Regions from separate parts of the Homo sapiens genome. Here region 2 is linked to region 1. Evidence: promoter capture Hi-C in human tissues and cell types (Jung and others, 2019). All regions are on one chromosome and are shown on one strand. The core of a region is centred on a gene start or on the middle of the fragment in contact, and the rest is flanking DNA. Distances in the headings are between cores, read along the strand shown.

What was found. Contacts are between HindIII fragments. The study calls those that stand out against the background at their distance.
Region 2: a contact is called between a fragment that was not itself captured here and the fragment with the promoter of UGT2B11 in region 1, in 1 of the 25 tissues and cell types used here (hippocampus).

What each region holds. Positions count from the first base shown.
Region 1 is chr4:69,210,817-69,218,029 of GRCh38, forward strand. UGT2B11 (UDP glucuronosyltransferase family 2 member B11) reads right to left here and starts at 3,932. Exons shown (of 6, transcript NM_001073.3): 1 at 3,186-3,932; 2 at 1,757-1,905. The coding sequence starts at 3,906. It overlaps LOC105377267 (a long non-coding RNA gene), which reads left to right. Exons shown (of 6, transcript NR_136191.1): 5 at 250-331; 6 at 3,657-5,951. It also overlaps the pseudogene LOC100422021. The HindIII fragment of the contact is 9,933 bases long and covers 2,617-7,213 here.
Region 2 is chr4:69,369,117-69,376,340 of GRCh38, forward strand. No RefSeq gene overlaps it. Among named protein-coding and RNA genes, the nearest start is that of UGT2B28, 92 kb to the left of the region's middle. The HindIII fragment of the contact is 5,961 bases long and covers 1-5,568 here.

The DNA.
Region 1 (7,213 bases), core at 2,682-5,181:
CAAAAACGTTCTTTTAAGAGGTTGCATAATAATGCATTGAAGAATGCTTACTTTGTACATATGTCTTAAAATGTGATATTAATTTAAAATATGTGAGGTTCTTGTGTTCCTTCAAAAAGAATATAATCTTATATGCTGACAGAAGTTTCTTCATATTGAAACTAAGGGCACTATTCAGATACAAGTGGTAGAAATTATTTCGTCTTTATTATGCATGCATTGTTCACTATCTCTGTGCTTCTCTGTCAGGCACCTATGATGTTGAGACAAGTTCATCCAGAAAGCTTTACTGATTTGCTTGTCATAAGGCAGACATCATCTGCTCTAATAGGTATGTTTATGCTCTAAAATGTAAAATTCTGGGATCTCAATGCAGAAATGATTTTAAATACTTTGTTAAAGTCAAGTGAACCCTGGGTTTGTCTGCACATATTTGAGGTACACATTTATATTGTTGAGGAAGAGTTTTAAGCTGGAATACTGGTGAAGATCCTTGTTACTTATGGTAGAATTTTAGAATTTCAACTAGCTCATCTTACTGTCACAATTGGTATGTATAATTTTAATCAAGTCCACAGGGTATCTGTCATCTATGACTTTGCAAGAGAATATAACCTTGATGTGCTGAATAATCTGGTTCTCTTAAATGAGGAATGATATCTCAAGTGACTTGCACATGTTAAGTAGTTAGTAGTATTAGTAATAATCACAAAATAACCATAATTACAAAATTAATAACATTTCTGAGTCACTGACTATATGCCAGAGACATTTTAAGTGTTTTGTCTGTTTTAATATTTTTTCCACACAACACAATATGAAGTTGGCACTATTTCTGTAAATGTGGGCCTAATGATTTCTATCAACATTCTAGTCCACTTTTCCATCATCTGTTACCTGAATCCATGGAAAGTTTCCTGAATGGTTAGCTCTTTACAGTGTGGCCCTTCTGTAATTTAATCCATTGAATATCTTGGAGGCTTTTCTTAAAAAAGAGAATCGTTTCATATATATTTATTTCTTAACTCTTTTTAGTAGTTTTTCAATACTCTTAAGAAATATTTCCACTACTAATATGTATCCGGCTCTAATTTACCTCTTAGTATCATCTCATTCTTAGTCATTCCCTGAAAACAAAACCTGAGGACTTGAGAACTGTCCTGACCACTTTATCTGCTTTCCCTTTTTGTCTGCCCCTCCCCTTCATTCTTTTACCTATTCCTGCATATTTTTTAGCCCTCATCTTACTAATCAGTAACTCCAGGATACTTTCTATTATCTCCACTGATGCTTTTTTGACATTGGGTTTTTCCTTGAGATAATAGTTTTTTATAACATTTTCATTAATTACTTTTCTATATATCAAAGTAGAATGTAAGGTATGTGGGGACGGAAACTGTGTCTATTTTTTTTCTCTGAAATTTCTGCACTTACTTGTGTTTTGTGCTAATCCTTTTATAAGTATTATTTGAATGAATGACCAATACCTTCTTAGGTGTTGCATAATCAACATTTTACTTTAATCAACCCTACATTCAAAGTCTCCTTACTATTCCTCTCTATTTGTAATATGCATAAAACTCACATACGTGTGACGGTATTAACATATACATGAGTTTCTAATTAGTATCTGCTTTACACCACCTACTTCCCATCTTTCTTTCAGTGTAAGTCAAACATTTTGAATGAAAACTATAGACTCATTTCTACTGAAACTTCGAAGCCAACAAAATAAAACCAACAAAAGTATGTTTACCTTAGGTAGGGGTTTGGCAGGTTTGCAGTGGAATCCTCCAACAAAATCAACGTTTGGTAAGAATGGATGAGGAAATTGAAAACTCCAGGAGTTTCGCATAAGCCATATGTCAGCTTTTCCCATTGTCTCAAATAAGGTAGTGGGTCTTCCTGACAGGAATAAAGAAAAGAAAAAGTGGATGATGTAAGATAATTACTTTACATACCTTTCTGAAAAAGGTTAGAACAATGTAAGCAAAGATGTAGGTAAAGTTTATGTGCTTTGAAAAATATATAAATATATATGAATAATATATTATTATGTATTATATATTTTGTCCATGTTTATTTATAAGAAAGGCAAAGTGGTGGGAGAATTATGAGGTTAAGCGACATCTCTAATGTCAAGTCAGTATACTCACAATTATTAAAATAAGTCATAGATAATTAAACATCAATTTATTTTCTCTTTAAAGCTTCAATAGTTGCATATAGATATTTAAACAACTCTTTGAGCTCCATAATCAATTAATTCTACTGTACCCATAAAACCAATTTTCTAACAGTCCAGTTTACACAACTCATTAAGCTAATCCTTTTATCTTTGGTTCAAGTGAACTCTGTACTATTTTGAGTGTATGGCAGAAATCCTGGTACCAACTATTCATTTGGATTTGAGCTAAGATCTTAATAATATTATCATTTAAGTAAATATATTTGTAAATTATAGCTAGAAATTTTGAGAAATTATTGAAATAGAGAACTGTACTCAACCTTAATCTGTCTCATATTTTTAAATAAAGAGACATGGTTTCAATAAACTATATAGATATAACAACCTTCACACTTCAACAAGATAATTGGACTTCAAATGCATGATTTCCAATTCTTTAGTTAGGGAGTATAGAAATATTAGAAACTTCAAATCACCCTTATTGACTTTTGCATCTGAGATGTAGACATTATCTCTCTCTACTGTGAAGGAAACCTTCTGGAAACATGGGAATATCTTTCAATATCTAAATAAGAAAACTGAGATTTACAAGGAAAACTTTCTGCAGTTACATAGATAGTTGTAGAAAAATGTGTAATTACTCATTCTATATCTATGCATTCAGTAAGATGTTACTTGATGGATTTTACTGTTTTTAAGATCTAAAACATTATATAGTAAAACAGATGTGTAATTGCTTAAATTCTTAGGTGTACTAATATATAGGTTTATGATTTCCTGGGGTGTTCTGTTTGAGTGATGGCCACAGGGTTTTAACAGACCTTATAATTTAAGCTTTTCTATAATGTTTGTGAGATTGATAGATCATCTTGTATTTTCATTTCATAAATTCACTTACCAAAAACTCCACTTCCCTGACTTTATGGCTTTATAAAAGCTCTGCTTCAAAGACACAAATAAGTTAGATCTTCACGTTACCGATTAAACAAATTCTTACCTAAAACTTCACTGTAAAACTGATCCCACTTCTTCATATCAGACATTTGGAACCAAAAGTCAAAATAAAGCACATAGATCATATTTTTTACCCTCTCCATGAAAGTCATTTGATCACTTAATTTTGACATAACAATAGGTATGTAGGAAGGAGGGAAAATCAGTCCTCCACTGTGCCTTTCAATTGTGTAGCCAGGAGTAAAGCGGAGACTGTACACAAACCGTATGTTAAGTAGCGCAGCCAGCAGCTCACCACAGGGAAAAACAGCATCTGCAAAAACGATGTCAAATCTTGACTCTTGTAGTTTTTTCATAACTTTCTTATTTGAAACTACATCTTTACAGAAGTTTCTAAATATGTCATATAATTCCCACAGGATTTCTTGTTCTTGTGAAAAATATAACCAAAAGCTATCTTTTCGAATGTCTGACCATCTCTTAACCTGTTGCATGATGATATTCTCAAATTCAGTTTTAGTTAAAGATGTAGGATAAACTTCAAATTTAAGAGTGGATGCATCATTGGGATCAAAAAGAATGGAAGCTGAAGATGCCAGTACAGTCACCTCATGACCTCTCTGAACAAGCTCTTTCAGGATTGTCTTCATATTCATCCAATGGCTGTATTCTGCGGCCCACACCAGCACTTTTCCACAACTCCCAGAGCTAAAGTAACAACTGAGATGTATCAGCAGAAGAACTGAAGTCCATTTCAGAGTCATCCTGGTGCAATGCGATCATTCTTTTCCAGTCACTGTTTCTTTCTCATACTTATATACAGAGATAAATCAATCAAGTTAAAATATAACTCCTCCAATCCAAAGTAAATATATTATAGGAGCATCCTGAGTACATGGATGGCAAGGAGACAAACAAAGTTCGATTACTTCATATTTACTCAAGGATGTTTTATGTTTCTTTTATGTTTATATTCACTGTCATCCACCTAAGATTAATGACCTTGCAAGTACCCTGTTTTATGTAACCTACTTTATAATAGTGTCAAGAACAGTGGCAAGTGAGAGAGTCCTGCAGAGCCCTTGACACAGAATAAGAGATGAAATGATTGTACAATGCAAACAGCATTTTTGAATATCGTGGTTCAATGAATATCTTGTAAATCTTTGTTGGAGTATAATTCAAATACCATATGATTCATCAATTAGTATTTAAAATTAAGTATTTCCTAGTAAATTCACAGACTTGTGCATCCAACGTAACAATCAGTTTTATCTAAAAAAACAAAAAACTCCTGTGTATTAGTTCTCATCTCCCCACCAAATTTCTGCATCCACCCTGCACTAGGCAACCAGTAATCTAATTTCTGCCTCTAGAAACACACCTATTCAGGATCTTTTTAAAAGTAAACGGAACAATATAGTATGTGGTCTTTTGTGGCTGGCTTCTTTTATTTAGTTTAATGTTTTTAAAGGACCATCCGTAGAATAGTGTAAATAAGGACTTCATTTTTATTGCCAAATTGTATCAGATGCTATTTATAAACACAATTTATTTATTCATTTATAAGTTGATAGATATTGATTTTCTTCCACTTTTGGCCATTATGAATAGCATTGATTAACATTGATGTGCATGAATTCTGTGGACATGTTTTTATTTTTCTTGGGGATATGCCTAGAAAGGCAATTACTGAATTATGTGGTAAATGTAAATATAACCTTTTGAGGAATTGCTAGACTTTTTCAGAGTGAGTGAATAATTTTCTATTCTCACCAACAATGTATGAGGGTTTCAATGTCTCCACAACCTTGCCCACCCTTGTCTTTCACATAACCAAAAAAGTTATTTTTTATTTTAATTTATAAACACACTCCAACAGACCCAAAAAAGGAAGGTTTCCTTCCACATATTGGAGGGAAAAGTGAATAAATTAAATAATAACTTACCTAATACTTCACTGTAAAACTAATCTCACTTCTTTTTGTTAAAAATCTCAAATGCAAAGTCAAAATGAAGAAAATGCAACAGATTTTTCACCTTTCTACAAATGTGTTTTGGTACTAAGTTCTGATATGACAACAGTTACATCAGAAGGAGGTAATGTAAGTCCTCCACAGAGTTCTTGGTACATACTGCCAGTTGTAAATGGATGATAGTAGACCAAATGTATAACAAATGTTTAACAGACTAAGCTGTTCAGATAACAGCTCACTACTGAGAACTGACATCTGCAAGAATGACATAAATTCTGGAATCTTGTTGTTCCTCATAATTTTCTTGTTCAAAACAGCATACTCAATGAGCTTTTGAACAGTATCAGAACATTCATGATATGTAGTTTTTGCATCTTTGAATCATATGCCAACAATGTACTCTTTGGAAACTTATATGTCCACATCTTGATCAATTTCATAAATATGAAATCAAGTTCCTTCTGAGTAAAAGATGTGGGATAAACCTCAAATTTAACAGCAGATTGTTGGAATCAATGAGGATGGAAGCTGAAGGTGACAAGCACAGTTACCTCATGGTGTTCTGAGCAAGTTCATCAAGTATCAACATTAAATTGATACAAAGACTGTATTTCATCGGCCACACCAGCACATTCTCGCAGGATTCAGGGCTAAAATACAACTGTCAGCATAAGAAACAAAAAAGCCCATTTCTTAGACAACTTGTTAAAATGCTATCTTTCTTTATAACTTTCTCTAACTTGGTACATATCAATATCAATCAATGTCACAATGATTTAAGTATTGACAATAGAGGTTTTGGAAAGCAAGTGAATAAAGAAAAGGATGAATGATTTTGTGTTTGCATGTGTGAATAATAAATTTCATTCTTATTGTAAATATGGCTGTCTCCAGAACAAGAGATAATTTAATTGTATATGAAGAGTTTCTAGTATAAGAAAGCAGCATTGTGTCAACAATGAGGCAGGGGTGTGATCTATTCTTATTTATCTTAACATTCTCAAATAGACCGTCTTCATTTTCTCTATGTATTTTCACAATTATGATATTAGCATCATTTCATGTTTCCTGACATTATTTTTCTGACCATAGAAATTCATTTTCTTTTTATCCAAACAGATATGTTTTAAGTACAATTACAGTTACTTTGCTTCATTTGCAAATATTTTGTCTAAATTACAATATTTTATTTTTCTGAATATTTGCAGCATTCCTTATGTTTCTCACTCTTAGAAAGTATTTATCTTCTAAATGCCTACTCCTGAACTTGTTTCACAGATTGTCTTGTAATTCAGGTAATTTGTACTTTTAAAAAGTCTCACCAGAAATTTACATCAAAGTAGAATTAGGAAGGAAAAGATGCATGTCACAAAACAGACAAATTTGTTTTTATTCTATTAATAATCTGTTAACCTGAAATGAGATAAGTCTTTCTCAAAAGGATGTTGGAACACAGTTTCTGAGCAAATATTGCCTGCAGAGTGGCAATATTGTTCAATATTTTTAATGTCCTTGAGTGCATGCATTATGTGTCACCCAGATTTTCCCTTTGGGAATATACAAATTACTTTCCAGCTGATGAAGTGATTAACAACTGACATACCTCACCTATAAGCTCTCTGTCTCAGAACAGCACTGCTGAAAGCTATCTAGTATAAAGTGACCTTTCCAAGACAGCCCATATCCAATGCCTGGTCATATGTAAGATTTTGAAGGCCAATTCTCCTCATTTCAATGTGGACCAACTCTGAAGGGCTAACTTAGCTTCAAACTCCCAGTGGGTGAGATGAAACCTATGCTGAGACTGCATGTCTCAGCATGCTCAGGGTGCTATATAGAAAAATACCATACATTGCCTAGCATATAGACAAAAAAAATTTATTTGCCACAGTTCTTGAGGCTGAAATTTTCACAATCAAGATGCTGGTATTGGGCATTCCTCCAAGATGGCAGCCCGTCACCATGTCTTAATGGGGAAAAGAGATGAATGAGTTCTTGTGAGCAAATTTTGGAATGGAATTAATTCCACTAATGAGGACTCTGCCTTCGTGACCTAAACACCTCCTAAAAGGTTCTGTCTGCTAATACAGTCATT
Region 2 (7,224 bases), core at 1,338-3,837, 160 kb after region 1:
AATAAATATTGATTTTCGTCTTCTATTGACAAATGACTAAAAAGTGGAGAGATATTTCCATAAAGAATCATAATTTTAGGCTTTGGTCTTATATACAAATGGAAGAAGTGGGACATATATTCCCCTTTAATTTCTTATCAATGGTGTTTTCAAGTTCATCTTATATCTGTTTATAATAAAAATTCTCTTCTATTTCTATATGTTATACCATTTCAGCTGCTCTTGATCCCTTACTTTCCCACAATATAAGCTGATGCAAAGGACTAAACTGCAAAAACATTTGCAAAATAAATTTCATGTTCATCTGGTGTGCATAGTTCAGAGTTATGTGCTTTTGTTATTCCTGTGATTCCTGTTTTTGAATGCCTGAATTCCAACTTAAGAAGTAATTATTTCTCTCTACCACATATCATTGAGCATTAGTACTATTTTGATTTACTTAATCATGATTCCTCTATGCCAGCTCACAGAAATGACACACATTTAAAATTCAATTGAGTTCAGTACCATTACTAAGAAATAGTCATGATATCTGTTTGAGAATTTAGAATACCATAATTCTAAATTTAAATTATAACCTAACCCAGATTATTATAAAATTATTATTCAATTCTAAGCTTCTATGTGTCTAGTAGGTATAATCATGACAGTTTTACTTACGTATTATCATTGTAAGTTTCTTTTACAAGAAAAAAACGGAGGCTCAATAATAAAATCATTAACATCACATTATATTTATGTAGAAGTATATTTTTAAGTTTATTTAAGTAGCATTTTAAACAAATATTGTGGGTGTTCTCAAAATTAAACCTATATCATATGTATAAAAGTAACAATATTTTACTATATTGTAAAGCCTAAGATATATATTTAGACTAGAATGAACGTCTTACATTGAATTTGGAATATGAATGACCTAATCCATGTCATAAGTGGCCTATTTCTTTTAATGTACACTTTATGAGCTCCATTCATGCCAGGTCCTCAGCTAGCCTCCCCTGATACAAAGATAAATAAGGCTGCACTATAATAAGTTCTCTTTCTTTCTTTCTTTCTTTCTTTCTTTCTTTCTTTCTTTCTTTCTTCTTTTCTTTCTATCTGTCTCTCTGTTATTCCCATCTCTGTGTGCCATCCTCACACCCCTTCACCATACTATTACATAGTATGCTAAAATGAAACAATTCAGACAGTATTGTTCCAATCATACATGCATTTATTAGAAAGAAGGCACAGAAAATATAAAAATTCAAAGGAGTTTTAGTAGTTGTTTCTGGGATGTAATATTAATTAGGACATGACATACACTAGATAACTGCTGGTAGAGAATCCATTAAAAAAACACACACCCACAAAGACATACACACTAACTTACTCACAATGTCTATAAATATATATTTGTATATATGTATATATAAACATGTATTTTAAAGTAAATACAGAAATATAACTAAGATATATCATATTATGTCAATAATAATCAAAATACAGTAGAACAATCTGAAAATCTCCAAATTAACTTCACATAGCTAATTATTTCAAGATGCTAAATATTTTTGTTCATTAAAATAAAGATAAATTTGTGATTTTTCTCCATATCTGATCTTGCAAAAATTCAAAAACTATTCATAAGCATTTTAATTTAATATCAATATAATTATTTTCACAAGTTCAGTTAGAATTGTTTCTCTGTATATGGAAGTAATGGAAATGTTAATTCAGTTGCCAAGGTTTGACAAAAGATACCATTTTTGACAAAATGGATGAACCTAGAAGATATTATGCTAAGTAAATTAAGCAAGTTCAAGAAGGACAAATATTTTATGATTCCACTTATATTAGGTAAGTAAAATAGGCAAACTAATTGAAGCAGACAATAAAATAGTGTTTTCCAGGGGTTTGGGAGAGAGAGAAATTGGGAGTTGTTGCTCAGCGGGTATAAAGTTTCACTTATGCTTATGAATAAGCATAGTGATTTCCTCTGCAATATAATGCCTATGGTTAACAACGTGGTATTGTGCACTTAATAATGTGCTAAGAGGGTAAATCGCAAGCATTATTACCATCAAAATCAAAGACTGACAAAGAGAGCTTTTGTAGGTAATGGATATGTTTATTACCTTCACTGTTATAATGACAGCATCATGGGTGCACGTATATGTCCAAACTCAACAATTCATAAATATATATATTACATACATATATTACATATATATAATATATATATAAATATATATATTATATATATTATATATAATATATATAATATATATGTATGTATAAAATACTTGGTTTTTTATTCAATTGTACTTCAATAAAGCCATTAAAATTATATACATCTATTTTTGAAATTTATATGATGCATTTCTTAAATTGATGTACAAATTATTTCTCTACAAGAAATCAAATAATTCATTGAGGTGTCGGGGAAAATGGTATTGTGGTTTTTATTTGAATTGATGATCAAACATTTCACAGACAAAAACACAAATATAGCGAAATAATATTTCCTAGATCAGACAGAAATTTATTTAAATTTTAAACTTTATATCTGATTCTTAAAATTACTTCCCACAAAAAGAGATAAAATTTCAAAATCCAGGTTGCCTTTAACACTGCAAATTTTGACTTGCACTGTTTTCAGAAAGTTATATCAATATAAATAACAGAGGACATTTTGATCTTATGGACCGAAACCCAGCTTCTGTCTATAACATAAAAAAAACCAAGTGAATGCCTTACTTTATCCATCACCCAAGCTCTATAATAATGGATTTTCTTAAATAAAGTGGGAAGCCTGTGCGCAGCACTAGAGGAAATCATGTTATCATTTCAATAATCTATTAATGAGTTTAACATTTTGGTAAAAGATTGAGTTGACAAGGTCTGACTTCCATTATGTAATGATAGCTAGATATGTAATGATAACTCCTATCGCTGTTACTAGTCCTTCTTTTCCAAGCTAAGTACAGTTTAAAATTTGGAAACAAGCATATTTCTTTAGAGAGAGATGGCACGGATCAAAATGAATCCACTGACATTTTGACTGTAGAAGAAAGGAAAGACCAAAAGTCAATTCCCACAATTGGAACAAAAGTCAGTCCCAAAAAGTTGGGACATAAGTCTCAGAACTTAATGTCTCCTGGCTTGTACATGGAGAACAGGGCATAATTAAGCTACTTTTGAATAACCCTATAAAAACTTTAACATTCTGAGGTGAAGAAGAAGTAGCCAGATTTAATCTTGAATAAAACTGACTAGATTCAGTTTTAACCTATAAAAAAAGAAAGTCTTTTTTCTATAAAGTCTTATAGTTGCTTTTTTAAAAGTAACATATGAGATCATCCTGTGCTTTTTTAAAAAATCAGGTTTGAATGTTAACAGTCTTTTGTGTTTTCACATAAATTTTAAGATTTTTTTTCAATTCTGTAAGAAATACCATAGGAATTTAATAGAGTTTGCAATAAATCCATTAATCACTGTCAGAAGTACAGCCATTTTAATAATATGAATGTTCATCTCTGGTCTAGCAAAGATACTCCATCTGACACATGGGATGCCAGTGGAGCAAATACTTGGTGGAAATTGCAGGAGTCCACTACCAGACTCTAGGATCTATTGGATTTTGCAATGGTCAGACTTTTAATCAAAGATGTAATGGAGCCCATCATCCTGCATCCTTTATACTTTTAAGGTCTTTTATTTTCACAATCCCCAGGCATGTAACGCAATATTATTTTCCATTTTCTGGGTCACCTGACATCTGTGGTAATGGAGGAATGAAGAAGCTTCATGTATCTAGTGAATTGAAGAGTTGTCTTCCCCATAAATGTGTCCAGTGAGTAACCTCCAGAATCTATTAAAGTGACTTTATTGGAGAGAAGATCTTTGCAGATGTATGTAAAAAAAGAAAATCAAGACAAATTTATTCTGGATTTATGATGTGCTCTAAATCCAATGACAGATATCTTTATAAGGAGAAAGGTAGGAGGATCCCTTGAGGCCAGGAATCCAAGACCAGCCAAGTCAACATAGCAAGACATCGCTTCTACAAAAAATTAAAAACAAACAAATTTTTTTGAAAAGAATAAAGGCAGGAGAAAATTGGGAAGAAAGAAAAGAAAAGATGATGCTGAGGAAAGAGAAGTTGGTGAGAAGCCATAAGCCATGGGACTCCAAGAATTGTCAGCAACCAGTAAAGGCCAAGAGACAGGCATTGAACTGTTTTTCTCTTAGAGCCTCCAGAACAAATGAACCCTGAGAACACAGATTTTGACTTTCTGGCTTAGATAGCTATCAGAGAATAATTTCTATTTTAAGCAGCCCAAGAAACTAATGCAAAGATAATCCACTTGGCCTTTCCCACTAAAATGACTTGTATCCAGGCACCAATGATATAATTCACGGTTTTTCTAAAGAGAAAGTGTATCTACACAATTATGCATTTTGGAAATTGAGGAAATCACCAGTTATCCTAGGGATGTCACTGTCCCTTTCAGGAAAAAAAAAAAATATGGAATCAGTATCATGGGAGTTTATTTGGCTTTACAGAATTTTTTTCCCTGAAGGGCCTGGTGTCTTTGTCCGTAAATAAATTTCAGGTCTGAAAGCAAACTTAGATCCAGACCCTTGACAGTTTACTGTGATTTCTAGTGAGGACAGCTGCCCTCAACTTTTTAGTATCCATTCTTGAACTCTTCTGGTATTATAGATTGAGAAATTCCCTTGGTCACCTATCTGTTTTGTCCCTAGTGCTATCTTCTCTATTACTATGTACACAGCTTTCTAAATTAGGTCTTTCTGGATAACACCCCAGTCTTAGTACTCATGTGTATTATGACTATCTCCCTTCTGAAGGTCTCTATTATTTCAATATCTGATCATAAATCGTATCAGTGAGATTGGTTTGGTGAGTCAAAAAAGACCTATCAAAGGATAGACATGTTGAACATTCATTACAACTAGCAAATATTTGATAGATTTCCAGCACTGTATAAGATGTCTATGTCCAACAACGATAGACTGGATTAAGAAAATGTAGCACATATACACCATGGAATACTATGCAGCCACAAAAAATGATGAGTTCATGTCCTTTGTGGGGACATGGATGAAATTGGAAACTGTCATTCTCAGCAAACTATCGCAAGGAATGTAAACCAAACACCACATGTTCTCACTCATAGGTGGGAATTGAACAATGAAAACACATGGACACAGGAAGGGGAACATCACACTCTGGGGACTGTTGTGGGGTGGGGGAGGGGGGAGAGATAACATTAGGAGATATACCTAATGCTAAATGACGAGTTAATAGGTGCAGCACACCAACATGGCACATGTATACATATGTAACAAATCTGCACTTTGTGCACATGTACCCTAAAACTTAAAGTATAATAATAATAAAATTTAAAAAAAAAAGATGTCTATGTTAATATATCCACTATCATAAGCCTTCTGATTCCCTCTTTCATTCACTGGCAAGGCCATTCCAGCACACAAGTTTCATTTTGTAGTAGCCACAGTTTTTCCCAAGATTATGAAGGTATCTTAGTAGTAGTCTGTTACCACTACCTTCTGAAGTTTGAGCACAACTATTAAATTCTATTTCCTTTGAGAGTGCCTCAAAACAAAAAAGGAAAGTGTTGTTGAACTTTTTGAAAGTGTTTGCTGCATCTATTGAAATGATCATGATGTATTTCTTTTTAGTCCTAGGTATGTGATGAATCACATTTATTTATTTGCATATGTTTAACGAATCTTGCATCCTAAGATTAATGCCTACTTGATTGTGCTGGTTAGATTTTGATGTGCTGCTGAATTCAATTAATTAGTACTTTGTTGACGATTTTTGTGTCTATATTCATGATAGATATTGGCCTGATGTTTTCTTTTCTTCCTGTGTCTCTGCAAGGTTTTGGTATCAGAGCAATCTTGGCCTCATAGAATGAGTTAAGGAGGAGTCCCTCCTCCTCAATTTGTTGAAATAATTCAGCAGGATGGCTAGAATTTCTTTTTATATGTATAAAAGAATTTGGCTGTGAATCTATCTGAATCAGGTCTTTTTTGTTTGCTGGACTTTATATTACTGATTCAGTTTTGGAACTCATTTTGGGTCAGTTCAGGGTTTCTATTTCTACCCGGTTCAACTTTGGGAGGATGTAGGTGTCCAGAAATTTATCTGCTTCTTCTAGGTTTTTAAATTTGTGTGCCTAGAGATGGTCATAATGGCCTTTGCAGGTAGTTTGTTTTTCCTGAGGTTGATGATGATCCCCTCTTTGTCATTTCTGAGTGTGTTTATTTGGATCATCTCTCTTTCATTCTTTTGTAGTCTATCTAGTAATTAATCAATCTTATTTATTCTTTCAAATAACAAACTTTCAGTATTGTTGATGTTTTCTATGATTGTTTGTTCTCAATTTTACTCTAAAAAACCCTGAGCAAATTATGTGTTAAGGGAAAATACTCCAAAATAGTAAGAGCCATCTGTGAAAACTCACAGTCAACATCATACTGAATGCGCAAAAGCTCAAAGGATTCCTCTTGAGAACTGGAACAAGGCAATGATGTCCATTCTAACCATTGCTATTCAGTACAGTATTGGAAGTCCTAGCCAGAGTAAGAGAGAAAAACAAAAGTCATCCAAATAGAAAGAGGGAAAGACAAACTATCTCTCTTCTCAGATGGTATTATTTTATACACAGAAAACCCCAAAGCCTCTGTCCAAAAGCTCCTACTTCTGAAAAACTTCAGCAAAGTTTCAGAAGAAAAAATGTATGTACAAATGAGAGGAGGTTCCAGCTGTGTTTCCTTGGTCGAGTAGGGGCTCCGAAAACTGTGAAACTCACTCATTTCCTGCATCAGAACTTACTTTGGTCCTGGATGAATCATACTGAAGATATATGCTTAAAATATTCCTAACATCAGAATTTGTGCATGTGTTTTCTTCCCCAAGAAAGCTATAAACAGAGAAACTTTAGTTGTAACCTTCCCTGTGTCTTTGCTCCCTCTCTCCCTTCCCCCTCCCCTGAAACTAAAAGGAATGTTAAAGGCCAGTTTTTCCATGACCAGCAGCCCTTGTCTATGCTCCCAATTCCAATTCCTTGTAAACACAATTTGTAAAATCCTGTGAGATTCTGTCTCCTTTGCCATGCCGCTGCAAGGTTATAAAGTAGATAAAACTTCAGTTACAATTCAGGTTTTCCTCAAGATCTAAGACATGTT